Linked DNA regions of Homo sapiens: region 2 is linked to region 1. Evidence: promoter capture Hi-C in 16 types of primary human blood cells and fetal thymus (Javierre and others, 2016). All regions are on one chromosome and are shown on one strand. The core of a region is centred on a gene start or on the middle of the fragment in contact, and the rest is flanking DNA. Distances in the headings are between cores, read along the strand shown.

What was found. The method cuts DNA at HindIII sites, captures the fragments that hold promoters and counts their contacts. A CHiCAGO score of 5 or more calls a contact.
Region 2: a contact is called between a fragment that was not itself captured here and the fragment with the promoter of EPSTI1 in region 1, in 1 of 17 cell types (naive CD4 T cells). The highest score is 5.1, in naive CD4 T cells.

Annotation. Positions count from the first base shown.
Region 1 is chr13:42,990,772-42,995,917 of GRCh38, reverse strand. It overlaps EPSTI1 (epithelial stromal interaction 1), which reads left to right and starts at 3,677. Exons shown (of 11, transcript NM_033255.5): 1 at 3,677-3,940. The coding sequence starts at 3,753. RefSeq lists enhancers at 3,044-3,283, 3,544-3,663. The HindIII fragment of the contact is 6,494 bases long and covers 1,121-5,146 here.
Region 2 is chr13:44,274,244-44,279,389 of GRCh38, reverse strand. No RefSeq gene overlaps it. Among named protein-coding and RNA genes, the nearest start is that of MIR8079, 81 kb to the right of the region's middle. RefSeq lists an enhancer at 4,749-4,928. The HindIII fragment of the contact is 5,130 bases long and covers 1-5,096 here.

The DNA of each region.
Region 1 (5,146 bases), core at 2,428-4,927:
TCTCTTAAAACATATTCCTAGGTAATTGTCTAGTATGGTGGTTTTTCAAACTTTTAAAAGCCATTGAATTCTTGCCTCAAACAAAATTAGGCAGTGGCCTAGTGAGTAGAAGAGATAAGGGGCTAAAGTACTTGGCTAAATAGGGATAGGGGCCCAGGACCCTCCCCACTCACCTCTGCTTCTCTCCACCAGCCACTACTATAGAAAAACGCACCCAAGAACAACTCCAGTAAAAGGCCAGCCCTTATTTTCGCCCAAATGCACACACCTACGGTGAAAGAATGGATGATACACAAGTAGCCCATTCTCGGGCATCCAAAAGGAGCCTGTAGATGTCTGTTGCCATAATAAATCACATTCACTTTTTTTTGTTGTTGTTGTTGAGACGGAGTCTCGCTCTGTCACCCAGGCCGGAGTGCAGTGGCATGATTTCGGCTCACTGCAAGCTCCGCCTCCCGGGTTCACGCCATTCTCCTGCCTCAGCCTTCGGAATAGCTGGAACTACAGGCGCCCACCACCACGCCCGGCTAATTTTTTGTATTTTTAGTAGAGACAGGGTTTCACCGTATTAGCCAGGATGGTCTCGATCTCCTGACCTCGTGATCCGCCTGCCTCGGCCTCCCAAAGTGCTGGGATTACAGGTGTGAGCCACCGCATCCAGCCTCACATTCACATTTTTTAAAACACTTTGAGAATGTGGCAAAACAAGAAGTGAATGGAGTGAGAAATCTCAGGTAAAACAAGAAGTGAATGGAGTGAGAAATCTCAGGTTTGAAACTTTGGTGTGACATGTGGTTGTGTTGTGAAACAAATATGGTTAACTAAGTATATTCTTGAGGCCAACATCCCTATTACTAGCTCCTTTAGGAGAATCAGTTTTCCCCCAGTGTGGGTTTTCCCTTCCTCAAACTTTAAATTTCATCCAACCACCAAAATAATTTTCTCCTTTGAAACAAGAGTTCCAGGGGTATTTTCCTAGTAAAGAACAATGTGGAAGATGGCCTCCAGAAAGGCCCTGCTGTTCCTCTTTTTTGTTGATCTCTAGGTCTGCGTTTCTCACCCCGCTGGTACCTTACACCCAACAGCACCTAAACAGACTTTTAGAACTTCCCTCAAAGCTTGTCCCTCCTCTAGGTTAATGGTTCTACCTCGTATCCAGTCACAAAGCTAAAAGTCACCATAAAGACAGCAACCATTAAATTACTGGGGCTATAAGGTAGGCATACTGTGAAGATCAGGATTTTTCAACTTCAACACTGTTGACACGTGGGGCAGGACAACTCTTTGTCATGTGGGCCTATTCTGTGCATTGTAGGATGTTTAGGAGCATCCCCGGCCTTTACACACTAGATGCTAGCAGCACCTACCCACTTTGAGGCTTCACAATCAAAAATATGTCCAGGCATTGCCAGATGTCTGCTAGAGGAAAAATCAACTCCATTTGAGAACCACTGATGTGGATGATCTCTATTCCTCACAATACCCACATGAGGCAGAGGAGGAAACTGGATCTCTGAGGAATTAAGAGATTTGGCCTTGGTTGTGTGGCCAGTATGTGGCAAAGCTGGTCTCAAAGCACTATAAAAGCCATCTCCCCTTCTCTCTGCTGCCTTCCAGTACTCAATTCTCTCTTTCATCTAGTTTTTATCTATGCTAATCTCTCATGTGAAATGTCTTTTATGTTTTATTTATTTGTTTTGTAGAGATGAGGTCTTACCATGCTGCCCAGGCTGGCCTTAAACTCCTGGCCTCAGGTGATCCTCCTGCCTCAGCCTCCAAAAGTGCTGGGATTACAGGCATGAGCAACTGAGCCTGGCCCATGTGAAATGTCTTGATTTTGCTCCCCACTTTCTGGGTTGCCTTAGCTCAGATCTGTATTTCTTACCTAGACGTAACTAGGCTCTGAATTTATCTTCCCGATTTCAGTCTCTTCATCTTTCAATCTCCGTTTTCACATTGTTAGAAGCTAACTTTGTAAAACAGATATTATTGAGTAACTGCCCTATTGAAAAACTTCCTGTGCCTTCCACATTGCCTACAACAGTGGTTCCCAAAGGGTGATCCTGAGACTGGCATCATTGGTATCACCTGGAAATTTGTTAGAAATGCAAATCCTTGGGCCCCATCCCAGACCTGAATCAGAAACTATATATATATATTTTTGAGATGGAGTCTCTCTCTGTCGCCCAGGTGGAGGTGGGGTTTCGCCACGTTGGCTAGGCTGGTCTTCAACTCCTGATCTCCAGGTAATCCTCCTGCCTCGGCCTCCAAAAGTACTGGAATTACAGGAGTGAGCCACCGTGCCTGGCCATAAATCTGTTTTAACGCACCCTCCTCCAAGTGGTTCTGATGCTTACTGAAATTTGTGAAACTCTGGCCTACTCTACAAAACCCTAATGTCTTAGGATGGCATAGAAATCCTGACTGACTTTCCTACCATGTTCCTTGTCATTATTTTCTCCTCTCCTGTCCCACCCTGGCCCACCCTTCAATTTCATTCTTTCATTAGCTATCAAACCTGTATGTGTCTTTTTGTTCTAAGCACCAATAATATAAGGAAGACAGTCCAGCTCCTAACTGTCTTGCTGACCTAGGACTGGGGTGCTCCAGCCACATGACAACCCCTGGAATTAAGTACACACCATGTCATTTTAAGTGACAAGCCTCTGCCATAGCATCTCCTTCTTCTTGGTGAATTCCTATGTCTTTGGTGGCTCATTCTCAAATGTCCCTGTTCCTGAATTACTCAGAGGGCTAATCCCCAGTTTCTCTGTGCCTCCACAGCTGCCTGTCATTTCATTTATCCCAAAGTGGCATTCCCATTTGTTTACCTGTCTACTAGGATACTCCTAGAATGCAGGTAGCATGAGGGAAGAGCCTTCACTCATCTTTGTGTAGACGGCATTGTGACCCTGGTGACCAACCCTGGCACACATCAGAATCATCTGGGAGCTTTTCAAAAATATGAATGCCAGAGCTCACCCCTGAACCTACAGGAACTGAGCCTTACACATCCATATTTTAAAATGTCCCCACATCACCGTTGCACACTGTTCTGCACAGAGCAGGTATTTTTAATAGTTCTCGAATGTCTAGTCAATTACTTAGCAAGGCTGCCTGGAGAATCATGTCTACCTTAGCTTACTTCTCCGGCTTTGTAGGTTTTTGTTTTCTTTTGATTTCAGTTTCCATTTCCTCTAACTTGAAAGTATGTGCATTGGTAACAGCCACACAGCAGTCATTACTGATAAAAGGCGACATTTTGTTGAGATGATTTTAGTTATTGACCTAATCTCTGGTATTTTAAGGTTAATATATTTTTTACAGTCTCAAATATCCAGCGGTAACCTCAAATTAGAGTTGCCTGTTAAACAGTTTCTCAAGTATCTTTCAGGATTGTAGTCACTCTGCGGGCTAATCGCTCACCAGGTGTCCGTGGCTGATCCCAGTTATTCTGATTAACCTCTAAGGTGATTGTGAGACTTTAAACCGTCTCACCTGTAGCCGACCAAGCCAGCTCAAGTCAACATCCTGGGCTGTTAACCCGCGATAAGGTCGGACGGGGCCTCAGTGGAGAATACGTGGGGAAGTTCTCTGGGGCGGGCGCAGTCTGCTGCTGATTCTGAGAAACCGAAACTCAGCTGTTAAAACCGCTGCCTCTGCACTTTGGAATCCCATCTTGAGACTCGCTAAGCGTCCCAGCCGCATCCCTCCCGCAGCGACGGCGGCCCGGGACCCGCGGGCTGTGAACCATGAACACCCGCAATAGAGTGGTGAACTCCGGGCTCGGCGCCTCCCCTGCCTCCCGCCCGACCCGGGATCCCCAGGACCCTTCTGGGCGGCAAGGGGAGCTGAGCCCCGTGGAAGACCAGAGAGAGGGTTTGGAGGCAGCCCCTAAGGGCCCTTCGCGGGAGAGCGTCGTGCACGCGGGCCAGAGGCGGTGAGTATTTTAACAACCTGGCTTCGGGGCGGGAGCCCGGGCCCCAAACATACTCACTCACAAGCACCTTGGTCCTTGGAGTTTAAAACCACAGGGGCCCAACAACAGGGATTTTGACTGAATGAAAGCTCATTTGCTTAAATGAAAGTATCCATGCCGCACCTTATAAATTGAGTCGGCTAGTTTGCAGTCCTTTGGTAAATAACCAGCCCGGTTCCTTCCAGGAATACTACTTTCCTGATTTTTGTGACTGGCTACAGGATTGAAAGATATGGGTGTGTCGGAACTGCCTAGGCATCCAGTAAGATGTCATTTTCCAGGTATCTCCAGAACTCATACTCCAACCAGTATGGAAATAACTTTTCCCTTACTGTTTTTAAAAATTTGGTGCTGGGCCAGGCGCGTTGGCTCAAGCCTGTTATCCCAGCACTTTGGGAGGCCAAGGCAGGCAGATCACCTGAGGTCAGGAGTTCGAAACCAGCCTGGCCAACATGGTGAAACCCAGTCTTTACTAAAAATAAAAAATAAGCTGGGTGTGATGGCACGTGCCTGTAGTCCCAGCTACCTGGGAGGCTGAGGTAGGAGAATCGCTTGAACCCGGGAGGCGGAGGTTGCAGTGAGCGGAAATTGCGCCATTGCACTCCAGCCTGGGCAACAGAGCGAGACTGTCTCAAAACAAAACAAAACAGAAAAACAAAACTTGGTGTCCTAAACGGAATTACTGTATCAGACACTAACAGGTAAGGGTCAACAAGAAATGTGATATGGGGTAGAAGGTTCAAATTCTGCCTCTAGGTAGGAGCAAGCCTACGTCCCAGCAAGACTCGCAGATAAACTAGCCTCTTACAACCAGAGGAGTGGAGCTGAGAGAGTGAGGAGGTGAGTGACCATAGTACCTCTCATCCCTGATGTTGATATGTGCTCTATGCAGGAACAGATAGGTAGCTTTTATTCCTGGTCTTTGGTTCAGGGACTGCAGTGAGTATCCGGGAAACATTTATTAAGCAAGTGTCATGAGCCTCTCTTTCTAGCCAATGGAATGAACTTTAACTCAACAGTATGGTTTATCACAACATCACTGCCTTTGAAGTGCTGCCTCTGTGAATTGGAACTGTCCAGATGGTTTTATTTTTAGTCTCTCCTTTTTCATCGACTTCTAGTCTCTGAAAGACAAACCCTGGTTGCTAAGAAACAGTATATAACCTT
Region 2 (5,146 bases), core at 1,282-3,781, 1.3 Mb before region 1:
AACTGAGGAAAGTGGTGGGAGAATTGAGTCATCCCACAGCACGGGGTAGCATAGGCATGCCACACTCAAAAATGCCAACATCTTAACAATGTCAGCATGGTATGTGTGTTGCAAATTAGTTTCAACAAAATAACATTACTGGTGTTATTAGCTTAATGTGGTTGATTTGAATTTTATTGACCTTTGAAGGTTTGTTTTTCATTTAATTTGTGAGTTTGTGTTACTTTTCAAGTTATATCAGAGCTGTCAGCATGAAGAGTTTATACCCAGATTTATGTTGGTATATTTTTAAGTAGCAGTATAGTAAGGTTAATTCACATTAACACTGAAGGTCAGGGATGCCTTTTTTCTCTTTATAGCTCCCACAGCTTTCAGTGTGAGAAGCCCTAACCATCACAGGGGGGTCAACAGGCTCTATCTATATTTGATCTGACCTGGAGGAGATCTTTACTTTTGGACTTTACAAGGCCCAAAAAAATGACTTATTGCAAATGACAGGAACTACATTCAGGAATTCTACCCATTGTCTTCAACATAAATTCATAAAAATATGCAAAAATAAATAATAGCTCCTGTTCCTGTTCATGGAGAAACTGGCACTCCTCAACTTCTTAGCCTCTTCTCCCAGGCTTGGTGGATCATCTTCTGTGCTTCATACTCTCCTTGTCCCTTCTGGTCAGAGCTAGGGTTGACAGACTCTTTCATGCAGGATGCTTGTTTTGTGTACAGAAACTTCTAGACTTGACATCAGGAAATGCTCATATTTAACTTCAAACACAATTCTGATCAGTAGTTTCTACGGAGTTTGGCATCCCTAGAAAACATGCTGCAAACTGCTGTCTTCCTATTTTGCTCATGACCCCAAGGCTTGCTCTGCACATCTGCTGTTTGTCTCTCTGTAACATATATACTCTGCCTTTCGTGTTGCATTCTCTGTTGAGATTTGGATCCTGCCCAAGCAGCACGAGGGGCCTTTGGAGCTCTCTGGGCAGGAAGTCACATCCTGTGCAGGAGCCAAGTTGAAATGGCTTCCGATTTGGGGCAGAAACTTGGGTACACAGACATTTTGTGAAACCATTGATGTTTCTACTTGCAAATATTTCTGCAAACAGGAACAATTTCTGTTAACTTTCCATGACCTGTGTCACAGAGGCATGATGCCTGTCTGCTATTTGTTCATTTGGCAAATATTTACTAGATATCTTTTATACGACAGCCACAGTTCCAAGTTTTTTCAACACCAAGATGAATAAAATACAGCATTTGTCCTTCATGAGCCTGTGGTATTGTTGGGGATGATATGCATCTAAATAGGCCTAAGTGCATTGTGACAGATGTTCTACCTTCTCATATGGTGACATACTGTACAGTAAAGCCTTCTGCAGGTGACGAGGAGGAGCCCCCTAACTATCTGAGGAGGTAGGGATAGACATCCTGAAGGGTGTGACATTTAAACTGGGTCTTGAAAGTTGAGTGAGAATTCTCTTGGTAGGAAATGGGGTAGGGTAGGCATTCAAGGTAGAGAGAAGAGTTTGTGTAAAAGCTCAGAGGAATGGAACTGCATAGAGTTTGGGTGGAAATACAAATTGTTTGAGATGCCTGGAACAAAGGTTTTGGTGCGTGTATGTGTATGTTATGGGAGGGGGAGGGTGGTGGAATCTCACACTAGAGGGAAGGAGGCTGAAGATCCTGAAGAGGCTCAGAGACTTCAGGCCATGCAGACACAACTGTATACCACTCCTTCTATCTTTGGGCTATGGTGCTTTGCTTCCCCATTTCCTTTCCCCTCCCCTCCCCTCCTCTCCCCTTCTTTCCTCTTCCCTCCCTTCCCTTTCCCTTCCCTCCCCTTCACTTCCCTCCCCTTCCCTCCCCTTCACTTCCTTCCCCTTTCCTCCCCTTCCCTCCCTTCCCCTCCCTTCCCCTCCCTTCCCTTCCCCTCCCTTCCCTTCCCCTCCCTTTCCCCTCCTCTCCCCTTCACTTCCTTCCCCTTTCCTCCCTTTCCTCCCTTTCCATCCCTTCCCCTCCCTTCCCTTCCCCTCCCTTTCCCCTCCTCTCCCCTTCCCTTCCGTTACCCTCCCTTCCCCTCCCTCCCCTTTCCCTCCTCTCGCCTCTCCTCCTCTTCCCTTCCTTTTCCTTCCCCTTCCCTACCCCTTCTTCCCTTCCCTTCCTTCTCTCTTTCTTCCTTTCCCTCCCTCTTTCCCTTCCCCTTCTTTCCTTCCCTTCCATCTCTCTTTCTTCCTTTCCCTCCGTCTTTTCCTTTCTTTCTTCCTTCCTTTGTTCAGCATTATAATTCACATACCATACATTTTACCCATTTAAAGTGTACAATTTGATGGATTTATATTCACAAAGTTGGGCAACCATCATCATAATAAATTTTATTATATTTTTATCACTTCCAGAAGAAACCTTGTACCCTTTAGCTATTATCCCTCAACCTCCTATCCTTCCAGCCCTAAACAACCAAATTTTTTTTTGTCTCTGTGGATTTACCTATTCTGGACATTTCTTAGAGATGGAATTGGGACTTACAGTTTCTGGTTAGGCATGTAAGGAGTTTGGAAGTCACCACTCCATCCTAAGGAATAAAAAGCTGAACAAACGGAAACATCCACAACTCTTTAGATCCATCAGAGAATTGAGATCACAGGGCAAACTGCTGTCCTCTAAATTGTAGAGGCAGACAGGTAGACACGGAGAATCACAACTTACAGAAGCTGAAACCAGGAGAAGAACCCTCCACAGGGAACAGCGCTGAAGTAGTTAAAACTGGAACTATAACCAACAAATTGCTGGCGGCTCAGTATGGACAAGTCTCAGAGTGAAAAACTCCAGGACGACTGGGTCATAGGGGTTCTGCATACTTCTGTGAGTTTTAACTTCTGGGGCTCAACCAGGTTCTCACAGTGACTATCAGAGAAAAATCTTCTCATTCATTCAGCAGGAGATTGGGAAAAGGAACCATTTTAAAATACAACAGAACATTCTGTTCTTAACAAGGTCTGCACTCAGGAGAAACTGTTTTACCAGAGCATAAACTATTGGGGTTTATCAGACCCTAACTGACTTAGAGGATGGGAAACACCCAACTCCAGCCCACTGTAGCCATCTTGTCCCGCCTAAAGGGGGCTGGGCTGAGAACACCTGTGAAGTTCACAGTTCGCAGGCAGAGGCTCACTAAATTAAGACCTAATTATAGGACTACAGATTACTTCCCCTCCCCACACCTCGCCACCACATTATTAAAGGCCTGTTTACAGCAGTTCCTTTTACCCAGTATATCATACCCAGCTATCAAGAAAATTAAGTTAAAAAAAAAATATTACCAGGCATACTAAAACTGAAAAAAACACAGTTTGAAGAGCCAGAGCAAGCCTCAGAACCAGACTCACATGTGGCAGAGATGTTGGAATTATTAGATCAGGAATTTAAAACAAATATGATTAATATTTGACTCTACTGGATAAGTAGACAGAGAGCAAGAACAGATAAGGCAATGTAACCCAGGAGATGGGAATTCCAAGAAACAAGAGAAAATGCTTCAAAAACACTTCAACAGAAATAACAAATGTCTTTGATGGGCTCATTGGTAGACTAGATAAGGCTGAGGAAAGAATTGCTTGAGGATATCTCAACAGAAACTTCCAAACTGGAAAGAAAAAGATGGAAAAAATTAGACCAGAAAATCCAAGAACTGAGGGACAGCTATAAATATGTAACATGTAGATGGAATCATACAGTATGTGGCCCTTTTTAAATGGTTTCTTCCACTTAGCAAGTTTTTTTTTTTTTTTTTTTGCAGCTGCAGAGTCAACAGCAGTCCTATTTCCCCTAAATTTGCAAAGGGATAGTGAGCTCATGGGAGAGAAAAAGAAAACAGGAAAACAGTGATGGGGTATTTGGGGACTGAAAATGCAAAACTAAATAGATGCAAAGTTCATTTTAAGACATTTTCTTCCTGGGACCATGGCTTACTCCCCAGGTGTAAATATTTCTCTTATCAAAAGACTTCCTTTTGTTTTGGGCAATGGGTAATTTATCTGGAGTCCTTTGGCCTCTAGATTATGTCTTAGTATACCGGTTGGTAGAGAGTCCCTCTCTTTCCCGCTGTTGTGTTGACATGGCCTCCATTAAACACCACAGAATTTAGGATTTGTGCTGCTTGCTTCTTTATGAGGCTGGTGCCTGATAGTGGGGCCACACAAAACTGCTTCCCCTCCAGAACAAACTTGATGAGCTGATAAGTGATATAGCCATGCCCGGTACTGTTTTCATAAGTGGGTTAAATTCACATTTGCAAATTCAGTAGAGCAGCCCTTGTCCATCTCACTGTGTCGCTGTGCAGAGGAGCTGAGTTCTGAAAAGCTCTGGTTTCCTTCTCTGTAAGCCTTGCTGGCACATTTTCAAAGACCACATCAGTCAGTGTGAGTGGTCCTGGGTCCTTTCCATGCAGCTGGCTCAGAGTTTTACAGACCCTGTAACAGAATCTCATAAAGACTGGCTGCCATTTGGGGTTAAAGTCTGGTGCTTCTCCCTCTTTTCTTGTATGAAGATTTGATTTTTAGATTTGTTTGGAAAATGACTTTGTTAGCCTAAATCATCTTAGGCTTCAATGTTAAAATAGAGTGGAATATGCAGTAGTTGACTCATACTATTGTAGCTAGACAACTTGTCACTTAATACTTCATGACTTTAGGGATTGGTTAAATTAATAATTTTATAAGGCACATAGACGCCAGAGAGCTTCCTCCATTTTGTTCTTTTCTCTAGCAATGTGCGTCATCATTACACCCCTACCAAATAGTGTATTTTAGAACCTGTTATGCATAACTCTGCCTCTGCTTTCACTTTCTGTTTCCCTCTCTCTCTGCCTCTCCCTCGGCCTCTATGTCTCTTTCATTCACTCTTACTTATATATACTAAAATATTGCAAATTCGCTCCCTAATAATTAGGAAGTTTTTTGCATGTGGCTTGAGGTTGTCCTTCAAAGGTTTTAAATATGTGTTGATGAGAATAGGCATAGGGAGGCAGGTGTGGGACAGCAGATGGAAGGGATGCTCTGTGTTCAAAGATCCCACCCTAGTGAAGTGAAGCTTCTACCTGGGGTTAAAGACCAACTTCCTGATTGTAACAGCTGTGACCCAG